2 separate regions of the Homo sapiens genome follow, and region 1 is linked to region 2. The links are contacts of gene promoters, found by promoter capture Hi-C in blood cells and fetal thymus (Javierre and others, 2016). All regions are on one chromosome and are shown on one strand. The core of a region is centred on a gene start or on the middle of the fragment in contact, and the rest is flanking DNA. Distances in the headings are between cores, read along the strand shown.

Region 1 (4,813 bases), core at 1,033-3,532, 410 kb before region 2:
TTTTTTTATCAATTCTCCCCTCTGCCAGTGAAAAATTATATATTTTCTTTCTGTTCTTTAAGTGGTTACCCTAAAATCTCCATGTGCACACTTCTGTATCAGAGTATGAAGTTAACGATGGCCTCCACCCTCTTCTCCAGCAATGATCTTATCACACAGTAGCTCAGTTTATTCATCTCAAATGCTGCTGTTAGTGTGCGTTTTAATTCTGTCCCTTTTCCTTTTTTTTTTTTTTGACACAGTCTTGCTCCATCGCCTAGGCTGGAGTGCAGTGGCGCGATCTTGGCTCACTGCAACTTCCGCCTCCTGTGTTCAAGCGAGTCTCCTGCCTCAGCCTCCTGAGTAGCTGGGATTACAGGCACATGCCACCAGGCCCAGCTAATTTTTGTATTTTTAGTAGAGATGGGTTTCACCATGTTGGCCAGGCTAGTCTCGAACTCCTGACCTCGTGATGCACCTGCCTTGGCCTCCCAAAGTGTTGGGATTATAGGCGTGAGCCACCATGCCCAGCCATAATTCTGTCCTTTTTCATCTTTGACTTTTTATGTGGAATTACTTTCCTTCCACTTGACCCATCCTTTGGAATTTCCTTTAGTGCTTGAAAATGCCTGTGTGTCACTCTTGTTCCTGAGAGACAGTTTTGCTTAGTACAGAATTCCGGATTGGCATTGTTTTTTGGGGTTTTTTTTTTTTTTTTTTTTTTTTTTTGAGACGGAGGCTCACTCTCCCATGCTGGAGTGCAGTGGCATGATCTTGGCTCACTGCAACTTCTGTCTCCCACATTCAAGAGATTCTCCCGCCTCAGCCTCCCGAGTAGCTGGGACTACAGGCACACACCACCATGCCCAGCTAATTTTTATATTTTTAGTAGAGGTGGGGTTTCACCATGTTGGCCAGACTGGTCTCGAACACCTGACCTCAGGTGATCCACCTGCCTCGGCCTCCCAAAGTGCTGGGATTACAGGCATGAGCCACCGCGCCCGGTCGGCATTGTTTTCTGAGTGCATTCACGGTATCATTTCCTCACTGTGGCTGCTTTTGTTGTTGAAGAGGAGCCGGTGTCTGTCCAGCGTTTCTCTCTTCCAGGGTCACCTGTCTCTTCCCCACCGACTGCCTGTTATTGAGACGTTGTCTTTGTCTTTGTTGTTTTGGGTCACCTCTCTCCCCCACCGTCTGCCTGTTACTGAGACGTTGTCTTTGTCTTTGTTGTTCTGGGTCACCTCTCTCCCCCACTGTCTGCCTGTTATCGAGACGTTGTCTTTGTCTTTGTTGTTTTGCAGTTTCATTCCAATGCTCCAGCTTCTTGAATCTCGGGCAGTCTCTCTCATGTCTTTAGGAAATAAGCAGCCACTGTTTGTTTACGTGTTGCCCCTGTCCTGCTTCCTCTGCCCTCCAGGTCTCTCAGCAGCTTTTGTATTTTCTGTGTCTTTGTCTCGTCGTACTATATTCTGAGTCATGTCTTTCGCTCTGTCTCCTCAGTCACTCATTTTTCCCTTGGTTAAGTCAAATCTGCTTCAAAGCTTGTCTGTTGAATTTTTATCTTGATGATTTATTATTTTATTTTCAGAAGTTCCCAAATAATGCCTGGTCTTTGTTTATAGTCTCTTGTTTCCAGGCCTCGCAGAGTGAGTGAGGTGTTTTTCTGGATCTGGTGATTTCCCTGTCTGAAATGTGCTGCATCTGCGGGGACCCCTCGCAGCCTGGGGCAAAGGTGGAGTTTTGCTTCCGCGGGCACCTTCAGGTGCCACAGGAACACTGCTTGGTGTGTGGCTCAGGCTTTCACTCAGCTCTCAGGTGTTACCCACCTGGCCTCTGAATCTGTGTCTCCTCCTCTCTCCTCCCCGGCACTGAGGCTTAGGGCAGGTGCTTTTCTTACAGATGCCACTGGAGGAAGGGGATGCTTTCTTTGCAGCCTTTGGGTACCTTTGTGGGTACAGTGTCTCCCTCCAGGATGGCAGCTGGCAGTAGCACGGGGCTCTTTTGCAAGCTCCCCACCGAGAACTGGCCTATACCTGGTGTCTGGTCAGCTGTGTCCTGTGCGACCCTGGAGATCACGGGGTGCGTCTCCATGTGGCCAGCGATCCCGGGCAGAGGTTGTGCAGCTTTTCTGCTCCGTGACTCGTGATGCCCGCCTGTGCTTAGGTTTGGAGACTGGCAGTTCCTGACTCTTTGCAGGTTTCTTGGTACATTTAAGATTTCTTGCTAGTGCTTTATTTAAGACGTCTCAGGATTTTCAGTGCTGTGCCAAGTAAGTCCTGGACCATTGTGGTCTTGAGATGGGCCCTGGAGCACCGGCTGCATCTTTGTTTCCCAGCAGTTCCACAGGGGGCGCTCAGGGCACTTATCTTAGTGAATTTTATTTATAATTGTTTAAGTGACAGTAAACTAGTAAATGCCTTCTGATTGATTTTAATTTTAGTAAGGACTAACATTTATTTCGACCTTTGTTCATGTGTGAGTAAATCATGTAATTTCACATATTTCGCAGAATAATCTTGGGAAATATTATTTTCATCCGTTTTCTGTAAGTAACAGGACCCAGCAAGAGACCAGGGTCCGTGAGGGCCTTGTGCAGGGAGGGCCCTTGAAATCAGGGCCCCCAGCAGCTGCCCACGCTGGAGCCTCTCTTGTGTTCTGGGTGCACGCCATGACGGTGCTGATAGGACACACAGGTGGCCCAGAGCCTCTTACTACGTCAAGACAGCGGGAGATGCATGCAGTAGCAAGTGCACAGAAAGTGGGCACTGGGTGGAAAGTGTTGCTTTATAAATAGCCAGATCTCAATCATGACTAAGAAGAATGTAGAAAAATGATAAAATTACCAGCCTCAAAACCTTGGTGCGTCACCGGGTTCCCCACTTCAGCTGGCTGCCCTAGCTGCACTGTACAGCTCATTACTGGAACGTCGTCCAGGCCTGTCATATGCAGAGCCCTTGGGACTCACAAGACGCTCAAATACTTACCATCCTCAGTCTGATTCTTTCATATAAACTTGCAGTCGTTTTTGTGAAAAGAAAAAATGTGTCTGAAATATGAGACCAAAAATAAGCTTAAATGATGAGTGATGGCAAATTGGGGAGGCAGTCAGTTGACTCACCATGCAGTGGAACGACTTGCTCTCTCACTGCTGCAGGTGGGCACACTACGAGAATTGCTCTTCTGTGTCACCTGGTCATTGTGTTTTTTGCATTAACTGAGGACAGAAAGGGAGGAAAAATCTCTTTTTGTGCACATACTCCTTTGAATTGTATGTTTGGCTTTTTTTGTTTTGTCAAAGGTTGCAAAACTTCCTCAAGTTGTTCAACAGCAAACACCCGTGGCCAGCATCCAGCAAGTTGCCTCTGCTTCCCAGCAGGTAGGACGCATAGACAAAGTGGAAACCTCACATTTCCCAGGTCAGAGAATGGGTTGTTTTCATCTGAGGTCATGATTAGGGAATCACTTTTGATTTTTGTGATACACACAAAAACATTAACTTCAGGGGAAAAACTAGATACACTTAATAATGAGAAGAGTGAACAAGCGTTTAGAGGTTGTGTCAGCCATACTGAGGGAGCCTCACCTTGGGCTCATTCCCAGGACCCTTCATTCACTGATCATCGCGGGTGTGTCCTGCAAGTCGCAGACACTGCCCTGTGGTTTTAGGGAGGCACAGGCCTCAGGCAAGCAGGCTCCGCTCGGGGCCCGCCCTTGAGCAGAGGCGCTGTGGGCACAGTGGCCTTGCCTCCCACAGAAGCCCTTCAGGCGCTTTCACTGTTGTCACTGATGCTCCACAATATGACTCTTTAGCACAGTGCTTTAAATGTAAAGCGGTGCTTTAAACTTTCTAAATTTTGTTTAAAGTCACACTGGCATATAGATTTCAAGAAACCAAACTCTATTAAAAGCTTTACTACAACAACAAAATCAGTCCCTGACCCAGCTCTCACCCTTTTCCCAAGAGGCATCTGGTGTTAGTCTAAAAGCAACCATCTTTTAATTTTCCACTTGTGTTTAATTGGAAACCAGAGGTCATACTGTTGTGTGACTGGTCATTCTTCCGTGTCATAAAAGCATAGTCAGTGAAGTTTCTCGAGTCCTCCCCATCCCAAAGAACGTCCATTTTCCTGTCCCTGGACTGAGTTTCCTGGGCAATGTGTGTTTTCTGACTCTCTCGGCTCAGGCTTCTCCACAGACTGTGGCGCTCACGCAGGCGACGGCGGCCGGGCAGCAGGTGCAGATGATCCCTGCAGTGACCGCGACTGCCCAGGTGGTTCAGCAGAAACTCATTCAGCAGCAGGTGGTGACCACGGCGTCGGCCCCGCTCCAGACTCCAGGCGCTCCCAACCCAGCCCAGGTGCCCGCCAGCTCCGACAGCCCAAGCCAGCAGCCCAAGTTACAGATGAGGGTCCCTGCTGTCAGGCTAAAGACACCTACTAAGCCTCCGTGCCAGTAGTCAGGGCAGCAGGGCTGCCTCTCATCTAAAGCAAAACTACCTTCCTCACAGAAAACGCTTTATTAGTGAACCTTGGGACCATGTCACGCAAGAGATTCAGCACTGGGAAAGATATAATTGAAACAAAATAGTGTAATCATTTTATTAAAATGCATCCCACACTGCAGGACAAATGGTCCTTATGGAGTGCCGCGTTCTCTGTACTACGTGGCTCATGGAAAAAGTGACAACATGGCTTCCTCTAAATCATTTCACCTTTCAGTCCCCACCCGCACCCGTCCCCTAGAGCCATAGTACTGTGTTCTGAAAGCCATTTAGAATTTCTTTGTGAGCATGTAGTGCTTTGCACGCCACAGAAGCCGTCTGCCGTGTGTGAGG
Region 2 (4,398 bases), core at 1,839-4,338:
CTGGCGGCCACCGTCCGGACAACCCAGCCATTCCCTCCACTTCCGAGCTCTGCAGGCCACTGGCCTGGAGGTCTCCTAACCGCTGCAGTCTCTACCTTCCAAAGCACCCCATCCTGCCCGGGGCAAGAGAGGGCAGATGTGTGAGCACACAAACTGAAAAACCAAACAAGCACAGGAGGTCCAACCTGCACCACACCAAGAAGTCAGTGGGAGTGTGGGGGGTGGGGTTCGTGCTGCAAGCTCTGCCCAGGGCCCTGGCAAGCCCCAGGGAGGTTCGGAGTCCTGGGTGGGATGTCCGGTCACTGTGATGCGTGCTCCCGGAGACACACAGCCCGGTCCGCAAGCAGGCAAGTACGCATCTGTCAGAAACCACCCCCAGAACCACCCCCAGAACCACCATCCCTCCCAAGGGCTTCCCATCCAGCACGTAGCCCAGCTGCTTTCTTCTGTAAGAGAAGGTTCCCAAAGCAAGCCCTCCCTGGGGAGCACCTGAGCCCAGAACTCCAGAGACGGCGGCTGGTCCCTGGGGAGCACCTGAGCCCAGAACTCCAGCATCGGCGGCTGGTCCCTGGGGAGCACTTGAGCCCAGAACTCCAGAGATGGCGGCTGGTCCCTGGTTGGCCATCTGGACACCTGGAAATGGATCAAAGGAGAGAAGGCACCTGGGGACGCCTTCCCCAGGACAGCCAGGGAAACCCGGGGGGGAGCCCAAAAAGGAAGCCCCTGAGGAGGTCTACAGAGCCCCTGCCCTTCACTGGGGTCACACATCTGAACATCTTCGGAGATCAGATAAACAAACAGTGTATGTCTATAATCAGAAACTTCAGGCTGGGCACAGTGGTTCACGCCTGTAATCCCAGCACTTTGGAAAGCTGAGGCGGGTAGATCACCTGAGGTCAGGAGTTCGAGACTAGCTTGGCCAACATGGCGAAACCCCATCTCTACTAAAAATACAAAACATTAGTCAGACATGGTGGCATAGGCCTGTAGTCCTGGGTACTCGGGAGGCTGAGACAAGAGAATGGCTTGAACCCGGGAGACGGAGGCTGCAGTGAGCCAAGATCACGCCACTGCACTCCAGTCTGGGTGACAAAGTGAGATCTGTCTCAAAAAAAAAAAAAGAAAAAGAAAAAGAGAAAGAAACTTCAAATCCAAAACCTCAGACCTTCCCAAGCAATTCTTCTGGGGGGGAGGGGGTGCCCACAGGATGCCCCTTGCAGTCTGACTGACCTCTGGGCCCAGCCTAGGGTGGGATGGCCTCTGGGAGCCTCGGGGAACAGGTGAGGACTCCCAGGCTACTTGGGAAGAGGCCTGTATTTAAACAAGAGCCTCAAATGCCACCTGGGTGACCCTCGCCCACATTTCCTGGCCTTCTGTCCAGGGAGGGGAATTCGGGAGCAGGCGTGCATGGAGAAACTACTCGGGGTCCGTTTCTGTCTTCCTAATGAGGCTTTTAAAAATCAAAAGGGAGGATGCTGGAGGGTGAAACCACGGTTTAACAAAACCCGGAATGGGAAGAGGGGGAGGGGGACCCTGCCCCCACCCTGGGGAGGCTTTGACAGGGAACCAGAGAGCGGGCTGGGTGGACTGGAGGAGGCTGGGTGAACAGGAAGTCCCCCCACCCCAGTGAGCTACTTTCCCAACTGCCTCAGCCCAGCAAACAGCCAGTGGTGCCTGGACCACACCCTTCCTGCCCTGCACAAGAGGCCGCCAGTAGGCTCTCCCAGAGGCAGGGTAAAGTGGACCCCGCAGAGTGGGCGAGGACCCGTTCCCACTAAGGGCAACCGAGGGCAGGGTCCCACCACTGTCTTGGGCACCCTCCCCTCCGCCCTCCAGCAAACCACCATTCTTCTCCGAGGGCCTGTGCAGGGGTGTAGCCCCGACCTGAAACAGGGTGCCCATGACTGCTGGGGCTCGGAGTCGTCACTCCTCGGGGAGGCCCTCTGGACCACCCAATGCCCACTCTCTGTGACACCTCCCCGTTCGATTTTCTTCAGATTATCCTTGGCTGATATTCTATTTGGCCCTGTGTTCAGGGTCTCTCTCCCACTTCTAAGAGGGTAGTCTATCTCAGCCGCTGCGGGGTCACCAACAGAGCCTGGACACAGGAGGCATCTGGCAAATACGCGCTGCATGAATCAATGACTCCAGTGCCCACGCGCAAGGGGCCCCTGGGCTCAGAAAACCCCACCAGGCGGGCCCCTCCGAGCTCGGCCTGTCCTGGGGGTGGAGGAGGAAGTTCGCCCCGCGCCTGCCTCGCAACCGCAGCCGCCTCCGTGCGCTTCCTGCCCGCGCCGCCCTCCACACTGCGCTCCGTGTCTGGCAGCAGCCCCCGCCTCGCTGGGCGCGTTCCCGGGGGTCTCGGTGGCGGGAGCCGCCTTCTTGTGGGACTTGGGGGCACGTGGCGCGGGGCGGGGACGCGGACAGACCCCTCCCGCATCCTAGGAGGCCTGGGAGGGTCCGCGGGGACGCGGGGAGGGGGCACCGCCTGGCCGAGGACCCTCCCCCGGTCCTCCCCGCCCCTTCCCCGTCCCTTCCACGCTCGCCGAGGGCAGGACTTCGGTTCCGCGAGACCGGAGGCCCCTCGTCCTCCTCGGAAGCCGCCCGCGGCCGGGGACCCCAGTCCCGCAGAGGAGGGCGGCGCTGCCCCCGCCTCCCGCTTGGAGAGCGCCGCCCGCAGGTGCCCACGGAGGGGCCGCGGCATCCCAGCGCCCTCCCAGGAAGGAGCCGAGCGGATCACCGCCGGCTGCAGCGGAGGTCGGGGCGCCGGGGAGGGGCGCGGCTAGGGGGCGAGGTCGAAGGGCGGGCACCTGCGGGTGGGGCGGGGCCTGAATTAGCGGGAGCGCCCGGGAGGGGCGGGGCCGGGGCCTGCGTGAGCGGGTCGGGGAGGGGGCGGAGCCTGCGGGGGGCGGGGCCTGCGTGAATGGGGCGGGGAGGGGCCGGAGCCTTGTGAGCGGGGCGGGCCGCGTGTGCGGGGTGGGGGCGGAGCCTTATGAGCGGGGCGGGGCAGGGGCGTGGTCGGGGCGGGGCGCGCGGGCGCCCGCGGCGGCCCTCACTTCCTCTGGCGAGCGCAGCCGGGCGGAAGTGCGTCAGTTGTTATCTGTTCGGGGCGCCGCCGCCGCCTCACGAGCCCGGTGCCCAGGAGCCCGGCCGCCTCCCGCCTGCCGCCTGCCGCGCCCGCCCGGCCCCGCCCGCTCGGCCCGATCGCCGCGCCGCGCGCATGGGGCGCGCCCCCGGGGGGGCGGCCGAGGGCCGCTGAGCGCCGGGCCCGCCCCCGCCGATGCGCCCAGCCGCCCGCGCCGGGGGTCCCAGGCCGCGCCGGGCCCGGGGCTGAGCCGCCCCCCGCGCCCGGCATGCCCGGCCCGGCCCGCCGCCCGCCGCCGCCCAGGGCCCGAGCCCGCGCGGCGCACACTCAGCCCGGCGGCGCCGCGTAGCCGAGGGAGCCCGCCTGCTGCGAGCCAGGCGCGGGGCGTCAAGGTCACCGGCCCGACGGGGCGCACGCGCGGCCATGGAGGCCAAGGTCCGCCCGAGCCGGCGCTCGCGCGCGCAGCGGGACCGTGGCCGGCGCCGGGAGGCCGCCCGCGACGCCCGCGCCCAGAGTCCGTCGTCGGGCGACGAGCCCGAGCCCAGCCCCGGCAAGGAGAACGCGGGCCTCCGCGGCGCGCCCCCCCGAGGCGCCGCCCCCGCGCCCCGCACCGCGCGTCCCCCGCGCCGCCGCCGCCGCGAGTCCAGCTCGCAGGAGGAGGAGGTCATCGACGGCTTCGCCATCGCCAGCTTCAGCACCCTGGAGGCCCTGGAGGTAGGTGGACGGGTGCGGCTTCGCAGGCGTTGAGGCGAGAACGGGGCCCGGAGTTGACGCGTCGGGCGATCCCGGGACCCCTGGGCTTGCGACCGCCCGCGCCGTGGGCAGCCCTGAGGGAAGCCCCGGCCACTTGGTACCCGTTCCAGGGACCCTGGGTGCCCACCGCTCGCCCAGACCGTCGCATCTGGAAGACCCAGCAGCGTCGGGTGGGTTTGGGGACGTTTTAAGTTGCAGAGGCAAAAAAATCTACGCTTCGAAATTGGGGGCTGTCTGACAGCACCGTCGGCCTTTTATCAGTTGTGTTTCTGTGGCCAGCATATCGCTCTGCCTGGTTCAGGACGTGCTAGGGAGCAGTGCTGGATCTTAGGGAGGTGGTGATAAAATGGATACTCCGCGGGCCATCCCGTTCCCTCCTCCCTTCGAGGGCTCTGCTGAGAAGGGGAGAAGGAGGGTTAATCTCAAGACCCCTCTTGGTGACTGCTGCCTGCTGCATGGTTAATAGATTGGCCAAAAATATTGCTTGTCTGGCTGACGGACAGTATTTGCTGAGCAAATACTGCTCCTCTTACATGAACTCAGCTGAGCAGAGAAGGAAA

The links. The method cuts DNA at HindIII sites, captures the fragments that hold promoters and counts their contacts. A CHiCAGO score of 5 or more calls a contact.
Region 1: a fragment that was not itself captured here is called in contact with the fragment with the promoter of FBRSL1 in region 2 in 1 of 17 cell types (total B cells); the score reaches 5.1 in total B cells.

What each region holds. Positions count from the first base shown.
Region 1 is chr12:132,073,239-132,078,051 of GRCh38, forward strand. It overlaps EP400 (E1A binding protein p400), which reads left to right. Exons shown (of 53, transcript NM_015409.5): 52 at 3,278-3,355; 53 at 4,163-4,813. The coding sequence ends at 4,435. Among named protein-coding and RNA genes, the nearest start is that of SNORA49, 44 kb to the left of the region's middle. The HindIII fragment of the contact is 1,529 bases long and covers 1,519-3,047 here.
Region 2 is chr12:132,487,063-132,491,460 of GRCh38, forward strand. FBRSL1 (fibrosin like 1) reads left to right here and starts at 3,089. Exons shown (of 19, transcript NM_001367871.1): 1 at 3,089-3,799. The coding sequence starts at 3,509. RefSeq lists enhancers at 2,050-2,179, 4,177-4,398 and silencers at 2,370-2,439, 2,570-3,019. The HindIII fragment of the contact is 10,018 bases long and covers 1-4,398 here.